7 separate regions of the Homo sapiens genome follow, and all the other regions are linked to region 2. Evidence: promoter capture Hi-C in human tissues and cell types (Jung and others, 2019). All regions are on one chromosome and are shown on one strand. Each heading gives the region's core, a stretch centred on a gene start or on the middle of the fragment in contact. The rest is flanking DNA. Distances are from core to core; before and after follow the strand shown. Region 1 overlaps LOC105373893 (a long non-coding RNA gene). Region 2 holds the start of EPHA4 (EPH receptor A4). Region 3 overlaps LOC105373893 (a long non-coding RNA gene). Region 4 overlaps LOC105373893 (a long non-coding RNA gene). Region 5 overlaps LOC105373893 (a long non-coding RNA gene). Region 6 overlaps LOC105373893 (a long non-coding RNA gene). Region 7 overlaps LOC105373893 (a long non-coding RNA gene).

Region 1 (3,196 bases), core at 535-3,034, 1.3 Mb before region 2:
TGAGATCTGTTTTAATAAAACCAAATTTTTGAATATGACCTAATCATGAATATAGACTGAATATAGCCTCCCCATATTGAGTCTTCTGAATCATTTTGAAGAAGGTGCTTATAAAGATACAAATCCATTTGATCCATAAATAAACATAAGATTAACAATGAAACCAAGCAATATTAAAGGTAACAGAAATTGCTTTCATTCATATATTTTCCCCTTGCTAGATCATTTATTTATCCTTGTATTCTTTCTCTTTCTTCCATCAAATACCTTTTTTATAAGCCTATTTTCAATCAGTCAATAAATAAGTAAAACTTATTGATATGGGTCAGCTGTGTCCCCACCCAAATCTCATCTTGAATTGTAGCTCCCATAATCCGCACATGTTGTGGGTGGGACCCAGTGGGAGGTAATTGAATCCTGGGGGTGGGTTTTTCCTGTGCTGTTCTCATGATAGTGAATGAGTCTCATGAGATCTGATGGTTTTATAAAGGGCAGTTCTGCAACACACTCTCTTGCCTGCCACCATGTAAGACGTGCCTTTGCTCCTTGTCCGCCTTCCACCATGATTGTGAGGCCTCCACAGCCATGTGGAACTGTGAGTCCATTAAACATCTTTTTCTTTATAAATTACCCAGTCTCAGTTATGTCTTTATTAGCAGCATGAGAACAGACTAATACATCTATTTACAACAGAATATGAACTCAAACTGGTGTGCTATTGTTCTCTTTTTACACTGTAAAAGAAATTTTGACATCAGCAAGTAGCATTTATTTATTTTGTAACAAAGGATCCCTCTCCTGATTCCTGCAGTTACTCCACTTCTGCAGGTCTGCCTCCGACAATATGTGTGGCAGAGATTGTATCCTCTCACATGTGTGCAGTGATTGTATTCTCTCACATCAGCAAACACTTCCTGCATGTTTACTATGTAACAGGCACTATAATAACTGTTTTGTATAGATTTTTCCATTAGATCTTAGCAACTGTGTGAGGTATGGGTACTATTATTGACCCATTTTATTGATGAGGAAATGGAGACACAGAGAGTTTAGGTAACTTGTCCTAAGTCACACAGATAGTGAGTGGTAGAGATGAGATTGAACCTGAGCAGTCTAATATAAGAGCCCACATTCTTAACTACCACCACTTTCCTCCCACTACAAATCCACCACAAATTAACAGTGGCCCCTATGTACTTCCTAGAAAGGAGGAGGGAAATTTGAGAAAAATGACAGAGTCTGAAGGTCAGAGTGGAAAGACCTCAAAGTTTATTGAATCCAGCCCCTCTTTGCTATAACTAAAGCAAAAGAGGAATAGGGATACTCATTTATCTGTTCGCATCCACCTAGCCGTCATGGGTGGCTGCATACTAGATCTGTTTCTGCAAGTCTCTTTCTGGTATACGACTTATAGGGATGAAGGCCCATTAAAGATTCATGTTCTATAGACAAATTTCCCTGCAGTCCTTTATTTAATTTCACCCGGTGTATCTAGGGAATTGACGAATGTCACTGTAAACACAGAAGGTTCAGGACTCCAATTGTGGGAAAGAAAAAAATCATTATTGATGAGAAGTTGGAAGAACTGAGCCTCAAATTGCATAGTAACACCCCAGTGTTTTCAACTTCCTTACGTCAACTAAATTTGTGATATTATTTATATTTAAAGCCTTCCTTGGTGAGGATGCAGATTTCCTGGGTTGAGGTATAGAGGCAGTTAATATCCAAGATGCCAGGATACGGCCACCAATGTGAATGCAGCTTTTCAGTGGAGCCCCTGAGCCATGCCTCTTCTCTGAGATCTCTAGTATTGCAAAGATGTGGGCTTCCTTTTTTTTCTTTCCTCCCCAAAGACTCTTATGATGGGCACTTTTAATTAGGACACTTCTGTTGCACAAACGGGATCTACATCTGACAGCTTCCTTCTCAACACATGTTTTCCCTCTCATTCATCCATCTTACTTGTCAGCCTCCTTTTTCCTCTGTGACTGTGTTTGAAATGCTGTCCCACACATCCTTCCATTATAGAAAGGAAATCTGACACCTGGGGAGGCAGTATTTCCTTTTACTCTCTAACGGCAGAGGGCATGCTGGCTATTTCTCAAAATAGCACAGTCAGCAGTATTGAGGAACATTAGTGCTTTGTAGAGGAAACCAATGAATATTTTTTTTCTGATGAGATGCAAATTGTACATTCTATATCTCCCATCAGTGAGAACATCATTTTGCCTTGTATAGTTATGCAAGCACCTTCACATCAATTAAGGGGCTGTGATGACACTGCTTTGACATCCCATTAGCCCTTGCCTTTAGTTATGTGTCTATTAGAAGCAGAAATAAAAAGTGATATTGCCAGTCAGAGGTGGAACTTGAAATATCCTGGTGTTCCAAGGCAGATAAAACATCATGAATCTAAGGTGTTTTGCTTGCTCCCTGATTGTTTGTCTTTGCAGCTAATATTGGGCTAAATTTTGAGTTCTGTGAGGGCAGGGACAATATCTTAGCTCTTACTGAGACACCGCGGTGCCTAGGGCAACATCTTGCTTATAACAGAATCAGAAATTATAGACTGTTCAATTGTGTCTTCATGTGTACCTTGAATATTTAATGAGTGGTCATGACATGCGGGCCCTGTGCTAGGTGCTCTTCTAACTGAGAAGGACTTTGGGGTTTAATTAACATAATTCTTCATCGTGGAGTCCTTCGTTCATCAAAAATTTATGGAGTGCTTACTAAGTGCAGAGATAAAAATGACATGGTTTCTGGGTTCAAGAGGATTCTAGTCTAGTGGAAGACCCTGAGCTCCAGAAACGTCAAGTGCCATGCCTAAAGCTACACACACCATTACTACAGAGGTACCAGACTTGGATCTCTTTACTCAAATACTTGATACTCATTTGAATCTTAGCATTCTAGAAATGTAGGGCTACAGGGTCATGCCACTCATTTGGAATTCAAATTCTTCAGCAACAGCTGTCAAATTGAATGTCCGTGGTATATTGGACAAGGGCTAGAGTGGCTCAAAAATGCCTGCTTATAAACATTTATCAGATGAATTGCTCTGAATTTTCTACTTACCAAAGATAATTGAATTTATTTTAGTGTGGCTTAAATATAGTAGACATCTTCAATAATGACAGAAACAGATGGTTTATATGGTGTAATTTCAGAGCTATGGAAAGGTCCTCTGAGTCTT
Region 2 (3,369 bases), core at 418-2,917:
CCGGCTGCCCAGCCAAGGCTAAGTTGGTTTTTGGCTCCCTCCTTCGGAACAGAGAAAACGATAGATTACACAGGGATGGATGGACGGATGTCTGGAGAGATGGAAAGATGAATGGATGGATGGATGGGTGGATGGATGGATAGATGAATGGGTGGATGGATGGAGGGATGGATGGACGGACGGACGGACAGATATATGGATGGATGCATTATGGATGGATGCATGGACGGACGGACGGATGCACGGAGAGATGGATGGATGCATGGATGGATAGATAGACGGATGGACGGACGGATAGATAGATGGATGCCGGAAAGGAGAAGAATGAGAGACGGATGTGAGACTAGATGCACGCAGGCCAGAGCACCAGCATACGCTGGAACAGAGCACGAGCATACACTCGAACACACGCGCACACACTCAGGACATCTGCGCACAGACATACAATCCTCCGCGTCCGCTTCCACGCAGGCATTCGCGCACCTACATACACGCAGTTGCACGCGCGCGCACACACACAGGCACACACACGCAGACATGCACACACACGCAGACATGCACACACACCACACATGCAGACATGCACACACACGCAGACATGCACACACACACCACACATACACACACACACACACACAGTTCGCCTCTCCCTGGGTTTCTCAGAAACTAAATGATCACCGCCCCCCCGCCCCGCCCCACCTCCCGACACAGACACACAGGCACATACAATCCTCCCAGCACGTCCGAACGGATGCACAGAAAACTGAGCACCCAGACGGGTCCCGTCGACCCCGCACGTTAGCTCTAAACTGTGTGCAATTCTGGGGCGAAAAGCTAAAACTCGACTGCGTTCAACTTGCCGGCGGGTTCCCCAAGTCTGCGGGGCGAAGAGCTCGGGCCCCTCAGGCCCGCAATCGCACCCTCGGGGCGCTGGGCTTGGCGAGGAGAAAGGTGTCTGACTCCGGGTGCTAGAAATCAGGTCACTGGCGCCTGACGAGCGGCGCCACGACCGCTGCGCTGCGGAGCAGGCCCCGCAGCCCGGTCCCGAGAAGCGCAGGGCTCGGGAAACTTTGCAGAAACCAGAGCTCGAAAGGCTTTCGCTAGAATCCGGGAGCACCAAGCCTTCACTGTGCTCCAGGCTGCGTTTTCCCCTCGCCCCGGGCTGGCTCAGGAGAGGACGTGGTTCTTGTAATTTTTTTTTTAAATCCCGGCGTTGTCTCCCGTGCATCCCCTCAGGGCGCCTCGAGCGGGCCTCTCTGGCGGATGCTGATAAACTTTGGCCTTTGGTTACAAACTTGGACAGACCCGCCGCGTGCACGGGTCACCGCCTCGGGGCAGGCTGTCCGGCGGTTCCCCGCTGCCCCTTCGCCGATCCCCTCGCCTCAGCCCCCTTCTCCCGAATCGGGACGCACCATTCACACTGGGCTCCCCCCGCACCACCTGGCCCTGCGCTCCTGAGGACCCCTCACCCGCGATGGCCCCTCGCTGTCCCCGACCACAGAAAGGCCGTCCCGCTCTTACCTTCATTCGCGGGGTATACCCTGGAACCTGTGACAGCGTCGCAAATCCCGAAGAGACACGAAAATAGGGCGAAATAGAAAATCCCAGCCATGGTTCGCCGGTGCCAACGCTGCTCCTGCCGCTTCTATCCCAGTGGAATAAATGCTTAAGTTAGGAGAGCAGCGGGCTGAAGACATTGCCAAGGGGGCGGGCCCGGCCGGTGACGTGAGCCCGCCAGTCCGGGGCCCGCGGCCAATGGCGGCGCAGACAGGGCGGCCGAGCCCCGCCTTCACCGAGCAGGGCCCGCCCCAGGGTTCCGCCCCCTCCGGGCTCCACGGGGCGCGCGGTCTCCCGGGGCTCTAGGGGGCGAGCACGGCCGGTCCCCGCCCCCGCCTGCCGGAGGGAGCCAGCGGGATCCCCCACGTTACCTCGAAGGTCGAGCCCCTGGACGGCGGAGGGACTTTGGAAAAGCTCGGAATTGACCGAGGGGAGCCAGAGAAGAGGTTGGAAACCTTTTCTCCCACCACGGGCGGTTTAAGATGGAGGAAAACGCTCTTTTATTGAAATAAAAGAAGTCTAAGCTGACCTGCGGTTGCTTCTTTAGGAGAGTCGACGTGTCTGCGTCCAGCGCGCCCGGGCTGAGCTGCAGACTCGCGCCTGCCACCGCCACCCTCTGCCACCTTGCCCTGTTTTGTCTTTATGGCGCTTCCCCCTCTGAAATACTCTTTGCGGGGAGTTTTGTGGCTCTATCACTCGCTTCTTCCCTGGCTCCCCAGATGCCTGGAGAGCGGGGACCTACTTGGTCCCCAACGTCCAGTCCGCAGCAGGGCTCCGTCACTGTCTCCAGAGACTGAACGAATGACTTTCTAGCAGTAAGGAAGTCCCCGCTGGCCCCGTCCCCCTGCACACGCCGTGGACCTCGCCCAGGGCCCAGGACGCCCCGAGATGGCCTTGGGCAGGGAACCAGTTGTGGATTTCCCGGGGGCAGGGTTGGGGGCAGTCCCTGGAACCGGGCCTAGCCCGTCTGGGAGCGGTGGGGTAGAAGTGAAAGGCTTAAGTGTGGGTGCGGGGACTTGCAGCCGCACAGACAAGGCAGACCGGGACTGGGAAGCTGCCCGGAGCGGCTGCTGCGACTCTCCGCTCCGACCTAGCCGGGGCAGCCCTCCCTGCCCCGGGAGAAGACGGCGAGCAGGAGGACCCGCAGAGCCCCGCCCGGCTGCTCCGGCCCCGGGGGCACTGGCACCATCGGGCTGTGGTCTTTTCCCGATGCCCGAGCCGTGGACGCGGCCACCTAAGAGCGGTCCGGCGAAGGCAGCGCAGCCGGTGTCCCAGGGACCGGTCCCCAACGCCACTCGGTGCATTTCCCCAGGCGCTGGCAGGGGCACTGATTCCTAGCAATGAGGCCTCCCTTCCCCTTCCCAGGCCGCCCCTCCTCTGACTCCCTCCAGAGCAGGGCCGAGTTTTCCTGGGGAGCCTGGGTCCCGGCGGCCGGGCGGCCGCTGGGAGGTGGAGGAGCCTCTCCAGCCCCGGCCGCAGCTCATCGTGAGCCAACCGCGCCACCTGCCGGCCAGATGCGGGAGTGTGCGGCCCCGGAGGAAGGGCGAGCGGACAAAGACCGCAACCCGCAATCCGCAACCCCGCAGAGAGGTGGTGCGTGCGTTTGGGCGAGCTTTTCAGCCACCGCCAAGTCTCGTGCACTAGGGCTACTCCTACCGTGGGGCTGCGGACAGCGCTCAAGAGGTCCTGGAGTCTGTCGTGACTCTCGCCTGCTGGATTTCAAAAGATGGAATCGGAAAGCGTTTCAAGGAGAAACTCCTAACAAACCTTCCGGGGGTTGCCTGAGTGGCTGCTCTCGGAAAAGCGGATCCT
Region 3 (3,134 bases), core at 56-2,555, 1.3 Mb before region 2:
TGTGGAAGCGGGTGGTACAGTCAAAACGGTAAACGATCACATTCTAGAAACACAATGATTTGGCCTAAATAACTTAAGAGGAGAAATAGATGGTAGGTATGTTGTTCTGTACTTAGGCTATAAAGTAACAAATGGTAAATTTAACCTGACCAGCATATAAATCATTGTTCACATTTTCCTGTATACTTTGGGTAAGACTGGAATTTATGTTCATAATCAAATAAATACAGTAACAACTTCGAGGGTCACTGGAAGCCAGTATCCCTAGGTGGCACAATGGGTGATGTGGCTTATGAGTAATCATGTAAATAGCATTAAATAAATAGCATTAGGAGACTGCAGAGGCTAGAGGATCAATATTGTTTCAGTACAAACAGGTTTCAAAAAGCCATGGCAGGATGCAATGGCTCACACCTGTAATCTCAGTACTTTGGGAGGCTGAGGCGGGAGGATTGGTTGAGACCCAGAGTTTGAAACTAACCTGGGCAACACAGTGAGACCTTGTGCCTACACACACACACACACACACACACACACACACACACACACACACAAATTAGCCAAGCATGATGGCCCCCACCTGTGGTCCTAGCTATAGGGGAGGCTGAGAGAGCCTAGGAGTTCAAAGCTACAGTTAACTATGATTGTGGCACTGCACTCTAGCCTGGGCAACAGAGTGAGATGCTGTCTCAAAACAAACAATGTGCACACATACACAGGCATGTGTGCACACACACACACCCACAAACCCACACCCCCATACCCACACACCCACACCCCCATACCCACACACACACTGAGCCATGCATTGTGAGTAATGAGTATGCTACTTTTTTCTCATGATGGGCGTTATGAAGCTTGCCAGAAACCACACATTTGATTGTATAGAACAAAAAGAAATGGCTTCTGGCCCAGAATGGGCAAAGATGGTCCCTGGATACTACAAAGGATATTCATGTGTCTTGATAGGACAACAGACGTATACATAAATTTCTCATCTACTCATTATTCTAAGTCTTTGTTGACACATCCCTGTACCTCCTACAGGACCATTAATTTTGTAATATTCCATAAAGTTGTTTATATAGACAGGGGTTTCACAAAAATATTTTTGGGGGCTCTGCACACCCTATGGAAAGCTCTGGCTGTGGCCCCTGTAGTGCCACCTGATGAAAGAAAAATGTGGGCTGGGCACGGAAGCTTATGCCTATAATCCTAGCACTTTGGAAGGCTGAGGAAGGTGGATCACTTGAGGTCCGGAGTTCGAGATCAGCCTGGTCAATATGGTGAAACCCCATCTCTACAAAAAACACAAAAATTACCTGGGCATGGTGGCATGTGCCTGTAATCCCAGTTACTTGGGAGGCTGAGGCAGGAGAATCACTTGAACCATGGGAGACAGAGTTTGCAGTGAGCCGAGATCTCACCACTGCACTCCATCCAGCCTGGGGGACAAGAGCAAAACTCCATCTCCAAAAAAAAAAAGAAAAGAAAAGAAAAGAAAAAAAAGATAAAAGTGAAAGAGGAGAAGTCTGATGAAAAAAGGCACATGTCAGTCTAAACTGATTGAGGTAAAAATCTTTTTGTCAAATTTACAAAAACATATGGCCATTGAATACCTTGCAAACTCCTCTCCCACAGCCCATGCAAAGAAAGGGCCCTGAAACTTGAGGCCTTGAAGCTTCACTGTAAACTATCTCTGCCAGTTAACTTGAATCTCCAAAATGGTGGTGTTCATGCAGACTACTAGTGAGGCTTCATCCAGACAACGGGTTCAGGGTTTATTTAAAAATAAAATCATTGTTAAAACCTTTGATTTTTTTATACAATCCTCTCTGCTGCATCCTACTGTAAACCCTGCAGAGTGACTTTTTTTCCCCACACAATTGACCTTAATAGCAAATACAGCAGAATTTGATTAATTCATCTTATATGTCCATAATTAATGTAAAAGGGCCAACAGTCTCTCAACTCTCTTCTCAGAAAAGATCTAATAATGGAGTTCAAGTGCAGTTTAATATGACCTAATTTTAAGAAATATAATAGCTGGAGAATTACTTTGAAAAGCGAGGAGTGCTATGCAAATGTAAAGTATCCTCATTATTATTGCTATTATTAGTGGAGTATCTATAAGTGTATTTGCTGCATTGAAAAATAAAAAGCAAAATAGTCTCTTGACATCTTTCTCTCTGGGCTCCTTGAGGGATCATATCTGTCTTATTAACTGTAGTATACTGGGCACCGAGCCAGGTGTTCCTGGTATTTAGTGGTACTTAAGAAGTATAAGTTGAATTAATGGATTAATAATCTCTGATCATATGTTTAGGTTATTTTACTTTTACAAATTTTATGCTGTGATGAATAATTCTTTCAATACTAAATTTTACTGAAATGTAAGTGTTTTCTAAGGATGAATTTCAAGAAGTTTAAAATTTCTAGAAGTCTAATGTTTAGGCTATATGCTTTATGCATTTTTAAGGCTTTTGATACATATTGCCAAACTACCTTCTAGAAATGTTCGTTTGTTCAACAAGTATTTATTAAATACTTATTGGTGTCCAGGCATTGTTCCAAGCACTGGGGAAAAACAGTGATGAATAAGACATACCATCCTCCTGGAGCTTATGTTTTACTCAGAAAGAAAGAAGATGAAAGATAACCAAATAGCAACAAAAAAAAGATGTAATTTGAGTAGCAATCAGTGCTATGAAGAAAAATAAAAGAAGCAAGAGAGTTGAGTAGATTTGTATTACTGTTTTTAAATATTCGCTTAACTCTTCCATTTATGAGTGACTATGGAAACGGGGAAGGAGGGAGGAAAATACTTGAGAAAGGCAAGTACTCAGACAATGGGGGATCAGTGAACACTGGCTCTGAAATTATGCTTATTCCTGAGGACCCAAAGAAATTCTACGGTCCACTAGTCAACTAGGGCCTTATGGTGTCCAAGCAATCAATGAAATTTTGCCCAAGTCTGTCTCACCATTGGCCAAGTGAGTCAATGGACTCTCCTGTGGTTATTTTTCCAGTTGCTAGAGATGTAATTAGAACAGAAATACTCAGACACATGATATAGTCACCTGTAGAGTGAAGTCCCTTATAGTAGGAAGGGAGATTGAGGAGATTAGCTGTAC
Region 4 (3,045 bases), core at 189-2,688, 1.4 Mb before region 2:
ATGGAGAGATATATTTTTAAAAGCCCATTTACTCCGTTACACCATTAGGCTACAGCAGGGCTTTCTAACCTTTGTCACATCATGGCACACATAAAAAAAGGCACTATTTGGATGGTAAAAGGAGGTTAAAAGGAGACAGCTATTTGTGGCTAGTGATGGCCACAAGGACTCTGGGTGCTCTAGGCCCCACTAGACGGATGCTGGGTACATCTGTGACCATTCCCAGTATGGAAAACCCAGCACAGATATATGTGAATGGCTCCCTGGCACCACACTTCTCTGCTTCCCTCTCCCACTTTGCTGTCCTCCTGCTCTCATCCCTTGCATCTTCAGTGTGTGGGTCCACACAGGCCCAACCTCACGGACACTGGAAAGCCTGGAATCCACACTTGGAAATCTCTTCTCCTCCCCAGCATAGCCTAGTGCTCCACACTGGCCTTTTTTCCTCCAACCCAACAAATGGCCATTCTGTCACCATTAACCTTTTTCTATTGGACAGAAACAACCCAATCACACTCACATTTACTTGTGAACGATTTGCTCTCTATTCTCCTAAGACAATATAAGGGTTTATTTACCTTGTGAAGGAAGGGTTAGTTAACTAAAGGGAGTGAATATTAGAGCCACGGTGATGTTGCCTGGTAAAGAAGGCCTCCCTCCACTAATCCCACAAGGACACCTGGGAAACAAGTCCCTTTTCTCCAGCAATGTTAGAAGTGTACTGTCTCTCCTTTCAGCTATAAAGTGTGATATATTTCCATAAGCCCAGACTAGGTAAACTTTCTTATGTTTTTGTATCTGGGAGCTTATTAGTGGACACTAGGTTCTCTTAATTGCTGGATAGCAGCATAGGGAATGCTTAATGGTACATGGAGAAAAGATGTTGACAAGGTGAAATAGATCTGGCACCTTAGATGTATTTGCATGTAGATGAGAATGTCTGATTGAAGGTGTAGCCTGTTTGTTTTTATTAACAGTTCCAGGATGGGCAGAATCTTAGAGGTTACCTTCTGGTGGGAAGGAGAGAAGAATTGTGTCTAAGAGTCAAGGAAACCTAACTTAAGAACTTCAGAAGCAAGTAGTGAATTCAGTGGTGGACAGGTGGAGATTGCTTGCCTGGCTTATAAATTGTCCTCTGTGTATGTCTGTGTACATTGGTACTGGGCTAGAGGCTCCCACGGCACTCCATCTCCAACCTTTTTGCCTCTCTCAGCTTGATGTGATGGTGCCAATTTCTGACTGATAAAGACATGCCTGACCTTGCCTCTTTCTGTGCTTGGATTCGTCAAGTGGGAGACACACAACTCCTCCTTTTGGAGCATTCTCTGGTCAATTAAATGTTCGGGCGATGGCTACTTGCACGAGTACGATTTATCTTAGCAGTGTGGACCTGGCCAACAGTTATCTCATCAGCAATTTGGGCAGTAAGGCCTTAGGTGGTGGTCAGGGCAGGTTAGCAATTAGTTAAGGATTCAGCCCGACTTCACTTACGTAATGTGGAGCATGAGATGTCTGCTGTGCCTGTCACACCTGAGCAAAGGGTACTGCAGCCTCAGTCACTCACCAAACAAGACTGCAATCTGAGGTTGTTAGTCACATTCTGGAGGCGGACCCCTAGTGGGGGTTTCTTAGCTGTTGCCTGGAAGAAAAGAAGAAATTTGGGCTTCACTTAGCAGATGCCACTGTTCTAGTTTCTAGGGAGTACTACCCAACTGGGACATTCAGATGTATCTTTAGATATATCTTTAACCTATATATATATATTTTTTTTTTGAGGCAGACAGGAGTTTTATTATTAGTCAAATCAGTCTCCCTGAGCTTTTTAAGGACAGACTTTTTAAGGACAACTTGGTGGGTATGGTGCAGGGAAGCCAGTGAGCTGCGAGTGCTGATTGGTCAGGTCAGAGATGAAATCATAGGGAGTTGAAGCAGTCTTATTGTGCTGAGTCAGTTCCTGGGTTGGGGGCACAAGATCGGATGAGCCAGTTTATTGATCTGGGTGTTGCCAGCTGATCCATCAAGTGCACGGTCTACAAAATATCTCAAGGCACTCCTCTTAGGTTTTACTATAATGATTTTATCCCTAGGAGCAATTTGGGGAGGGTCCGAATCAGAATCTTGTAGCCTCCAGCTGCATAACTCCTAAACCATAATTTGAATCTTGTGGCTAATTTGTTAGTCCTACAAAGGCAGTCTAGTTCCCAGGCAAAACAAGGGGTTTGTTTAGGGAAAGGGCTGTTATCATCTTTGTTTCAAACTATGCACTATAAACTAAGTTCCTCCCAAAGTTAGTTTGGTCTATGCCCAGGAAGGAACAAGGACAGCTTGGAGATTAGAAGCCAGTTGGAGCTGGTTAGGTCAGATCTCTTTCATTGTCTCAGTTATAATTTTGCAATGGCAGTTTCAATCCCTCCCTTTGGGTTTTATAACACCTTAATCCTAAGGTGTTGGTTAATGGAGATGGGAAAAAGGTGAGGACCACTCTTCTTCCTGCTGACCCGTGGTGTAGTTGGGGTAGGTGTTGACCCCAAGGCGAGAGGAGTGGAACTGCTTTGCAACTGAACATATTCACGCAGGCCTGGTTGGGATTCCAAGGCTTGCATGACAAAGGCATTAGTATTGTCATCTATAGTTTTAGTACCGCCTTCAAGAGAACAACGTATTATAAGGTAAATAATGAGTACTAAGATAAGGAGTGCAATTCCCACTTTTAAAAGTGAAGATTTGAAAGCATTAGTTTGGGGACTTGTAGTCCACAGAGAATTTAGGATTTAGTCCAAACTGCAGAAAAAAACTGAGAAACAACTAATAATAGGTGTACTATAGTTTTTTTGAAGCGTATTTTTTTGTCTCTCCAGTCCCCATTTTTATTAAGAATAAATCATGATAGGACTGATTTGTTTGCAAAATGAACTTTATTCTTGTTATACTTGGCCTGTTATTTGCATAAAGCACAGCAAGACTAATTATTAAATATTTTTACATAGGTTATTTTTAGTATTGGGTTTGCTGAAACTTTGTTTTATAAGGAATCTCAGACTGTAC
Region 5 (3,213 bases), core at 572-3,071, 1.4 Mb before region 2:
CTCCACTGCCGTATAAAAACCAGTGGCCAAAATCTGCTTGTGTCTGAGATAAATGTTAATAAACAGACATTACGAGTACTTCCATGAAGTTAACTCTTGAGATTGAGCTTGCTCAGGAGCACAAAAAGGAGGTGGTTCTGAGAAAATTTTTACTTTTGTGGTGCTTTTTAAAGCAGTCCTGCTGGGAAATCACTTTGATCAGCACACATACACACAGAAAAGATCATTTTTGGCTATTCTTACATTGTAAAGCCCCCAGTGGTGCTCTGGCATTTGTGAGAATGAGAGTTGTTCGCTGGGCACAGCCTGTGTCTGAATTACCTTTGCTGTCTTTGTCCCTTCAGTCCCTCCCTCTTGCTTACTTCCCATTCACTGAAGCTCTGAACTTGATTCTGGTTGTCCCCTCGGCATGCTCTGCTCCACTGTCTGACTGGTCCCAAACCTCGTTTTGGGTTTGTTTTGATGGGGTGCCAGGGATTTATTCCAAAAGATGCACACACTTTCATATTTTTCTTCTGCAGCAAAGAGTTCAGGTCAGAGACATAGAATAAACAGATCTACAAATGCATCTCTCAGTAATCTCAGATTCTTATTTATCATTTGACCAGGCTTATTTTCTAGATGACCGTAGAAAAATTATAGGAACTAAAAAATTTCTTTGCTCTACTAGTGATCAGATGTTCTTGGTTTTTCCAAATTCTCAATATAATTTATTCTTATCTAAAAAGGTGATAATTTGATAGTGTAAAAATAAAGAGTACTTAATTTTATATCATTGAGATACTTTTCTAACGATTCCTTTTATGTCAGTTTACACATAGGAAAAATTCCTTCATCAGACTGTGCCACTGAATTCTGGTTTCAGAAATTGGAGTCCCAGTGACTATAGACCTATGTCCAATAGCACAGAAAGAATATTCAAGCTGAGTTAAAAAAAAATCAAGAAGTATTGTGGTATAACAACATGGTTTATGTATCTTCATCAGAACCAAACCAAGAACAACAAAATCTCGTTAACTTAGGTTCTCTCCTCACATTGGATAAGTGGCTGAAATTAGATGATGAGTTTGATTGTTTGTTGGGCTTGATACTAATTGGATTAGCTTGTTTCTGTGTGTCCTTGATCTACCCATTTAGGCCCAGACACACAGCCAGGGTATTTATGGGTTTCCAGTGAACTAACAGGCAGAGCTCAGTGCTGAAGACAGAAGACGATTAGATGACAGCGAAGAGATGGGATTTTCCTTGGAGGGGTGTGTGTGGGGTACCCCATCACGAGGCATACAATAATCACTAAGGAAGACACAGTAAAACAACAGAGCCCTGCCCAGAGTCAGACAAATGAGCAGCTGCTCAGGAGAGTTGGTTAGAGTTACTTTAGCAGTGTGATAGAGATTTCTGGAAAGCCTTCTTCCATCTTCCACTCAAGCAGCCTTTAGAGGAAGAAAGGCTATAAGCAGAGCCATAGAGATAGATTCAGGGAGAGAAGGAGGAAGCCCAGGCAGGAGCAGCCAGTTTGGGGTGGGTAGGTGGAGAATATGAACTTGGATTCTGAAGGAGGTGAGGGCATTCAGGAAGGTTCAGAAGGTCAGAGGAAGGTGATGAAATCCTATGAAGGAGACATCTTAAGGAGCTGAAATTTAAAATGAAGTTAAGGACTGGTTAAATAACCATCCTGGCTGAAGAGATGAAGGAAAATTTCAGAAGATGGGCAAGATATTTCCTAGCCCCAAGGAAAATCAATGTATTAGTCCATTCTGACACTGCTAATAAAGACATACCCAAGGCTGGGTAGTTTATAAAGGAAAGAGGTTTAATTGGCTCACAGTTCAGCATGGCTGGGGAGGCCTTGGGAAACTTACAATCGTGGTAGAAGGGGAAGTGAACGAACACACCCTTCTTCACATGGCAGCAGGGAGAAGAAGAATGAGACCTAAGCTAAGGGGGAAGCCCCTTATAAAACTATCAGATCTCATGAGAACTCACTATCAGAAGAACAGTGTGGGGGAAATTGCCCCCGTGATTCAATTATATCCACCCGGTCCTGCCCTTGACATGTGGGGATTATTACAATTCAAGATGAGATTTTGGATGGGAACACAGTCAAACCAGATCAGTTAACAAACCTGAACACTGGACTCACATTGATTCTTTTCCTTTTGCTTGCTCCTAGGTATGGTTTTTAGTGTACAGTCTTACTTTGTGATACTAAAAATCTAATTCCCCTCTTTTTTTTCTCCCTTCCATTATGAAACCCTACTTATGGATTAGAACTAGCAGCTAGAGGTCGATCCCCACAAGGCAGATTTTTATTTTGGTGGCAGGTCAGAAGTAGGGTATTGGGTTCTCCCCTGCCCTTTCATCTCCCAGTGAGGACTATCAGACATCAGCAGACAGATCAGCCTGGAGTTAGCTGCCAGTTCCCAGGGCACATCTGCCTGTGCTGGCTTGTTTGAGGTGACTTCCTTTGAGGGCAACAAACCAATTCTCATACCTGAACCAAGTCATCTAAGCCTCCCAGAAAGGGTGTGTTTCACTTGTACTGACACAGGGAATATGATTCTTGTTCTTTTGAGTAAACAGTTCTATACAGTAGAGGGTGGGGCCAGATTAGAAAACAAAAGCCTAGAATTATATTGTTTCTCTAGCACCAACCTCCCTGGGGTGAGCTCACTGCTCAGAATGACACTCTTCTAGTCTGACCCACCTTTTTTGATATATAGGGTGGCGTTTAATGTCCTCTGCTCTGTTGCAGCTGGAATTCACCTCTTTTGCATGCCAGTTATAATCAGACAGAGTCCCTTTAAGATCCCCAGATAAAATATGTGTAGATATGTCAGTTGTTAACCTGCATTCGATTGATGCACAATTTTCATTTCTATTTAGACATGTTTGCTTGAGAAATACTGATAATACCAACACGTATTCTTTAATGCTATTGGAGCTAGTGGCAAAGTACCCTATTTTCTACTTTATAGTTAGTTTTAAAATTCAAACTATAAATGTGAATTACTTTTCTGTCTGATTCCTCTGGTGTAGGTTATTGTTATGCTAATTCAGGTGTATGTCTTCCCAGACCTTCTAAGTATATAAATCTTGTGTTCTTTTGAACAAATTGGGTGGTTAATCCTTTAATCAGTTATTGAGAGATTGCTACAAGCACAGAGAGAAAGCTGGACTTCTAAGCTTAACCATTTGAAGGTCGACATTGTT
Region 6 (3,033 bases), core at 416-2,915, 1.2 Mb before region 2:
TTTGTGTTATCCTTTCTGGGTTTAACATTCTGTAATTATGCAGATATGAAGGAAGCTTGGCCTTGACTAAGCCTTGGGACAGCCACCTGGACAGTAAGTACAGTGAAGTTTCCAAGGCAAAGGCTTTTTTAGTATTTTCTACTAGCCCACGAGGGAAAAACAGGCTAGAACAGCTGGTCGGAAACATGTCCTGTGCCAGAGTAAGAAATGACTGATTGTGAACTTAATTTTAAGGGACTCTCCAATTAAACCTCTTAGATTCATTAAAAAAAAAAAATCTCATCCTTCCACTAACCCCATGTGCTGGGAGTTGGGGGGGATCTAGGAGTTAATGTGCATTCCAGGTGGGTTTGCTTCTTGCACATCTGCAAAGGTCTTCTGTTGGAGTGACAGTAAAACAGAAGAGGAAAAACATCCAGGTTTCTTTCCAACTCAATTTCATGCCAATAACTATGTATATATTGAGCATTCATTAAATGAAAAGCTCTCTGTTAGGTGCTGCTGGGGATGAACAGGACATTGTGAAGGGGTAATTGTTCACCCTAGTCCTGATGTTTTTTTTTCCCTGAGTAAATCTCCTGCCTTTTCTCTACCCTGTAGCTCACTTCCCATTGCTGAAGTTGGGGGACATATTGACTAGGAAACTTGGGAAGAACAACTGGCTTGATTCTGCCCTTTTTCCAGGGAGCCCGCCTCCCTGTGCAGGGTATTTGCTCTGAATTGCTTTGTTCCATGGCACCTTCTGCTGCTAAGTTGTTGTCAGGAGGACGGGAACTGCAGTTTTCAGGTAAATGACTTTATAACCTTCCAGTATTTTTGGTATTGGTCAGAGGTATTGAAAAATTAAAATGAAAGAGTGAAATTTGGAAAGCAAATTATACTTGTGGCAAGATGGGCCAAGATGCGCAGTGTTTAGTCATGGAATTAGTATGAGAGAAGGGTCCTCTGACTTTGGTGATTTGTGGAGGTTTGAAAAAACTGCAGATGCATTTTTATAGTTATGTAGCTGACATTTAACTACTGTGACCTGGGTGAGATCTTTAAGACAGCCACACGATATTTTGTCTTTGGTGAATGATGGAAATTTATAGAGGTTTTGTCCATAGGCAAGAGGCTATTTTTATGGAGAGAACAACATCTGTGGGAAACTTCAGCTAGTTCACGGGGGTGACAGAGAGCTCACACCTTGGTTTCTTGCAAAGGTCTGGCTGATAGACTTGAAGCTGAGACATGTGATTATTGAGCAAGAGCTTCTCCATTGGCCTTTTAGGCATTGGTGGGTAGAACAATACTAGCTGCATTTAAAGGTCAAGGCAACTGGGTTTTACAAAGCACTGGTGAAGTTCTAGCTTACTAATGTTAGGCCTGGATGTTAACCCAGTCAATGCTAGATTGGCTGTTCTGAATCCCACTCTGCATTCAGGAGCAGGGAGGAAGCTGTAGAGAGACTAAGCCTGAATTCATGTAAGTAGCCCACAGGTTCAAAAATGAAAAATATTCAAAGAACTTATGGGTGAGTTTCAAGGAGATTCAGTTTCTATAGGTGGGCATACATCCTAAAATCCATGCCAAAGAAAATACGGAATTCAAGTCAGAGGAAGCCAGTGTCTTGAAGAACGCATGGGGCAAAGGGTCTGGACTAGGCCCCTGAGAGCCTGGGCATGAAAATAGCATTAAAGCTTCAGTTCAGGGATCCATTTGTGGGGCATGGGGGAAGGGGGAACTTCAGCTGAAACAAATGTGGGAATGAAGTCAAATATCTTCTCTGGCAGGCAGATTTCCTTGGGCTAAGTAATTCTGTAAGAGAGGCATGGAAGTGGCCCATATGACAAAGACTGAACATTCCTGGTCAAAAGAGGGTGGATGTTATGATTAGATAGAGGCCAGACTCAGGGCAGTACCAGAAGGCAAGAGTGTATGGGAGAAATTAAGAAGTGTGGGATACAGGGAACACGTAAAATATTAACCCACATTGGTAGGTGTCTGCTCACTGAACTTCATAGATCGTGGATTTTAGGCAACTGATAGCCATACTTTGGCTAAAAAAAAAATGCTTACACCTTGCTCTTCTTCACTCAGATACCACTGAGTCACTGTTATGGTTTTGGCAATGCTATGTTCTCAGCTCATAATTTTGTCTCAGGCAGCTCCTTTAGGGGTTAGAGATTGGCTCTCTCCAAGTTTGGTGGGTGGATTTTCTTGGAAGCTTTATTAACTCCTAGGATGCTTTAAAACATGAAGCTCATCTAAGCTTTGCATTAGATTGATATAACTTCAAAGGCTTTGAATGAACCACATTCAAGTCTGAAGGAGACATCCCAAGCTGTTGCTGTTAAAGGGAACTAATGGAACCCCATTGGTGAAGACAGAGAATAACTGGAAGAGAGTTGCTATGGTTTGACTCTGTGTCCCCACCCAAATCTCATCTTAAATTATAATCCCCATGTGTCGAGGGAGGGACCTGTAATCCCCATGGGTCGAGAAAGGGATGTGATTGGATCATGGAGGCTATTTCCCCCACACTGTTCTCAGGATAATGAGTGCATTCTCAGGAGATCTGATGGTTTTATAAGTGTCTGGAAGTTTCTCCTTTGCTCTTCTCTTTCCTGCTGCCATGTGAAGAAAGTCTTTGCTTCCCCTTGCCTTCTGTCATGATTATAAGTTTCCTGAGGCCTCCCAAGCCAGGCAGAACTGTGAGTCAATTAAATCTTCTTTGTTTATAAATTACCCAGTCTCGGGCCATTCTTTACAGCAGTGTGAAAACAGACTAATACAAGGATGAATTCTAGGATTTAATTTTGTTTGACTGAACAAGGTAAAAGAATACAATTTGGACATGGATTCCTTTGAACTTCAATTGTTTTGGACTTTAACTGGCTCAATGGCATAAGACTTTTTTTTTAAGAGAGAAAAGTGGGCTACATAAGCAAAGGAAAACATGCTTGGGAAACAGAAGTCAACTTTAACTAAAGAGTTGGCTCTGAGTGGATGAGAAGTAGAGATAAAACTGTAAAGGTAACAGGAATGGAGTTT
Region 7 (3,374 bases), core at 185-2,684, 1.2 Mb before region 2:
TTAAAGTAGCACAGCACTCAAGATGTGGCCTAGTTGCTTCTGACAGCTTGTAATAAGATATGAGAGCAAAGGAATGACTGAAAGTTGGAACTTATAATTAAAAGGGAAGCAGAGCAGAAAAGTTTAGAAAATTTACAACTTGGCCATGTGGTAGAGAAGGAAACAGAATTTTCGGGAGAGGAATACAAGTGGGCTGTGGAGCAACCACTTGCTAAATAAATTAGCGTGACTAAAAACGAGCCAAGGGCTAATAAACGAGACAATGGGCAAAAAGCCTTGAACGCATTTCAGAGACCTTACAGGAAGCCCCTCCAATCACAGGCCCAGAAGCCTAGGAGGATAGAATGGTTTCAGGGATCAGGCCCAGGCCCAGGGTCCTGCTGCCCTGAGCTGCCTTAGGAGGCTGCTCCCCAAAACCCTGCCTCTCAAGCTTCAGCTACAGATCAAAGCACCCCAGGTGCAGCTTGAGCTGCCACTCTGGAGGGCACAAACAGTAAGCCTTGGCAGCTTTCATGTGGTGTTAAGCCTGCAGGTGTGCAGAATGTAAGAGTGAATGAGGCTTGGCAGCTTCTGCCTTGATTTCAGAAGATGTATTGGAAAGCCTGTATACTCAGGCAGAAGCCTGCCACAGGAGTAGAGCAACCCTCCCACCTTCCACAGAGCTTCTACTAGGTCAGTGCTGAGGGAGAAATGTGGGATTGGAGCCTGCACACAGAATCCCCTCTGAAGTACTGCTTAGCTGAACCATGGGGATGAGGCTGCTGCTCTCCAGATCCCAGAAAGGTAGAGCTACCAACAGCTTGCACTCTGAGCCTGAAGAAGCTGCAGGTTCTTAACTCCAACCCATGAAAGCAGCCACAGGGGCTGCACCCTGCAAAGCTGCCCAAAACCTTAGGAGCCCACCCCTTGCACCTGCATGCCCTGGATGCAGGACATGAAGCCAAAGACGATTATTTGGAGCTTTAAGATTTAATGAATGCCCTGCTGGATTTCAGACTTGAATGGAGCCTATGGTCCCTCTCTTTTGGTTGACGTCTCCCTTTTGGAATAGGAATGCCTGTACCACCATTGTATCTGGGAAGTAAATGTCTTTTTAAAAAAAATCTTACAGGCTCATAGGTGCATGGAATGTGCTTTGAGTCTCAGATAAGATTTTGGGCTTTCGAGTTGATGCTAGAATAAGTTGAGACTTTGGGGGACTATTGGGAAGGGGTGATTGTATTTTGCAATGTGAGAAGGACATGAAACTTGAAGGGCTGGGTGAAATAGTTTGGATGTTTTATCCCCTCCAAATCTCATGCTGAAATGTGACCTCCAATGTTGAAGGTGGGCTTAGCGGGAGGTGTTTGGGTCATGGGGGTGGATCCCTTTTAAATGGTGTGGTGCTGTACTCATAGCATAAGTGAGTTCTTACTCTCTGAGTTCACATGAGATCTGACTGTTTAAAAGAGCCTGGCACCAGCCAGATATGGTGTCTCATGCCTGTAATCCCAGCATTTTGGGAGGCCAAGGCAGGTGGATCACCTGAGGTCAGGAGTTTGAGACCAACCTGGACAACATTGTGAAACCCTGTCTCTGCTAAAAATACAAAAATTAGCCAGGCATGGTGCATGCCTGTAATTCTAGCTACTTGGGAGGTGGAGACAGGTGAATTGCTTGAACCAGGAGGCGGAGTTTGTAGTGAGCCAAGATCATGCCACTGCACTTCAGCTTGAGTGACAGAGCAAGACTCTGTTTCAAAACAACAACAACAACAACAACAACAACAACAACAACGAGATCCTGGCAACTCCTCCCTCTCTATCTTGTTCTCTCTATCTTGCTCCCTCTCTCACCATATGCTAGCTCCTCCTTTGCCTTCTTTCATAATTGTAAGCTTTATGAGGCTTCACTAGAAGCCAATCAGATCCTGCTGCCAGGCTTGTATAGCCTGCAGAAACTTGAGACAAATAAATCTCTTGTTTAAATAAATTAGCCAGATTCAGGTATTCCTTAGCATCACAAAGGAACTATAACACGTTAATGTTTATTTTCTTTTTCCGATTAGTTTGGCTAGATGTTTATCAATTTTGTTGATCTTCCCAAAGTATTAGCTTTAGGTTTCGTTAATTTTTATCTACCATTTTTCTGTTTTCTGTTTTATTGATTGTTTTTCTGATGTTCATTATTTATTCTCTTCTGCTTACTTTTTTTTAACACTTATTTTATGTTCAGGAGTACATGTGCATGTTTGTTATATAGGCAAACTGCGTGTCACAGGGATTCAGTGCACAGATAATTTCATTACTCTGGTAATAAGCATAAAACCTGATAGGTATTTTTTTTCTGATCCTCTCTCTCTTCCCACCCTCAACCCTCAAATAGGTTCCAGTGTTTGTTGTTCTCCTTCTAGTATTCATATGTTCTCGTTATTTAGCTCTCACTTATAAGTGAGAATATGTGGTATTTGGTTTTCTGCTCCTGGGTTACTTTGCAAAGGATGATGACCTCTACTTCCATCCATGTTCCCATGAAATACATCATCTTGTTCTTTTTTTAATGGCTGCATAATATTCCATGGTGTATATGTACCAATTTTCTTTATCCAGTCTTTCATTGATGGGCATTTAGGTTGATTCCATGTCTTTGCTATTGTGAACAGTGCTGCAATGAACATTCATGTGCATGTTTCTTTATGGTAGAATGCTTTATATTCCTTTGGGTATTGTACTAGTTTGTTTTCATGGTGCTCTGAAGAAATACTCAAAAATGGGTAATTTATAATGAAAAGAGGTTTAATTGACTCACAGTTCTGCATGACAGGGAGGCCTCAGAAAACTTACAATCATGGCAGAAGGAGAAGTAAACATCCTTCTTCACATGGTGGCAGGTGAGAGACTGCAGAACTGAGGGAGGAAAAGCCCTATATAAAACCATCAGATCTCATGCAAACTCGCTCGCTATCATGAGAACAGCATAGGGGAACTGCCCCCCATTATCTAATCACCTCCCTCAAGGTCCCTCTCCCAACACGGTGGGATTACAATTCAAGACGAGATTTGGGTGGGGACACAGAGCCAGAATATACCATTCCAACCCTGCCCACTCCCAAATCTCATCTTTCTCATATTTCATAATACAATTATGCTTTCCCCCATATTCCCCTAATTCTTAACTCATTTCAGCATTAACCCAAAGTCCAAGTCCATAGTCTCATCTGAGACAAGACAAGTCCCTTCTGCCCATGAACCTGTAAAATCAAAAGCAAGTTAGTTACTTCCTAGATATAATGCGGGTGCAGGCATTGGGTAAATACATCCATTTCAAATGGGATAAAAATGCCAAAACAAAGGGGCCACAGGATCCATGCGAGTCCAAAATCCAATAGGGCAGTC

The links. The method cuts DNA at HindIII sites, captures the fragments that hold promoters and counts their contacts. A contact is called where the count stands out against the background at its distance.
Region 1: a contact is called between a fragment that was not itself captured here and the fragment with the promoter of EPHA4 in region 2, in 1 of the 25 tissues and cell types used here (lymphoblastoid cells).
Region 3: a contact is called between a fragment that was not itself captured here and the fragment with the promoter of EPHA4 in region 2, in 1 of the 25 tissues and cell types used here (dorsolateral prefrontal cortex).
Region 4: a contact is called between a fragment that was not itself captured here and the fragment with the promoter of EPHA4 in region 2, in 2 of the 25 tissues and cell types used here (heart right ventricle and lymphoblastoid cells).
Region 5: a fragment that was not itself captured here is called in contact with the fragment with the promoter of EPHA4 in region 2 in 1 of the 25 tissues and cell types used here (lymphoblastoid cells).
Region 6: a fragment that was not itself captured here is called in contact with the fragment with the promoter of EPHA4 in region 2 in 1 of the 25 tissues and cell types used here (H1 embryonic stem cells).
Region 7: a fragment that was not itself captured here is called in contact with the fragment with the promoter of EPHA4 in region 2 in 1 of the 25 tissues and cell types used here (dorsolateral prefrontal cortex).

The regions. Positions count from the first base shown.
Region 1 is chr2:220,294,308-220,297,503 of GRCh38, forward strand. All of the region lies in intron 2 of LOC105373893 (a long non-coding RNA gene), which reads left to right. Among named protein-coding and RNA genes, the nearest start is that of MIR4268, 390 kb to the left of the region's middle. The HindIII fragment of the contact is 5,750 bases long and covers 1-3,196 here.
Region 2 is chr2:221,570,637-221,574,005 of GRCh38, forward strand. It overlaps EPHA4 (EPH receptor A4), which reads right to left and starts at 1,668. Exons shown (of 18, transcript NM_004438.5): 1 at 1,522-1,668. The coding sequence starts at 1,612. RefSeq lists silencers at 1,624-2,043, 2,644-2,923, 2,974-3,133. The HindIII fragment of the contact is 17,926 bases long and covers 1-3,369 here.
Region 3 is chr2:220,317,942-220,321,075 of GRCh38, forward strand. The region is part of intron 2 of LOC105373893 (a long non-coding RNA gene); the gene reads left to right. Among named protein-coding and RNA genes, the nearest start is that of MIR4268, 410 kb to the left of the region's middle. The HindIII fragment of the contact is 3,042 bases long and covers 1-2,826 here.
Region 4 is chr2:220,155,905-220,158,949 of GRCh38, forward strand. All of the region lies in intron 2 of LOC105373893 (a long non-coding RNA gene), which reads left to right. Among named protein-coding and RNA genes, the nearest start is that of MIR4268, 250 kb to the left of the region's middle. The HindIII fragment of the contact is 8,724 bases long and covers 1-3,045 here.
Region 5 is chr2:220,217,050-220,220,262 of GRCh38, forward strand. The region is part of intron 2 of LOC105373893 (a long non-coding RNA gene); the gene reads left to right. Among named protein-coding and RNA genes, the nearest start is that of MIR4268, 310 kb to the left of the region's middle. The HindIII fragment of the contact is 4,714 bases long and covers 1-3,213 here.
Region 6 is chr2:220,348,222-220,351,254 of GRCh38, forward strand. The region is part of intron 3 of LOC105373893 (a long non-coding RNA gene); the gene reads left to right. Among named protein-coding and RNA genes, the nearest start is that of MIR4268, 440 kb to the left of the region's middle. The HindIII fragment of the contact is 3,770 bases long and covers 1-3,033 here.
Region 7 is chr2:220,401,803-220,405,176 of GRCh38, forward strand. All of the region lies in intron 3 of LOC105373893 (a long non-coding RNA gene), which reads left to right. Among named protein-coding and RNA genes, the nearest start is that of MIR4268, 500 kb to the left of the region's middle. The HindIII fragment of the contact is 3,727 bases long and covers 1-3,298 here.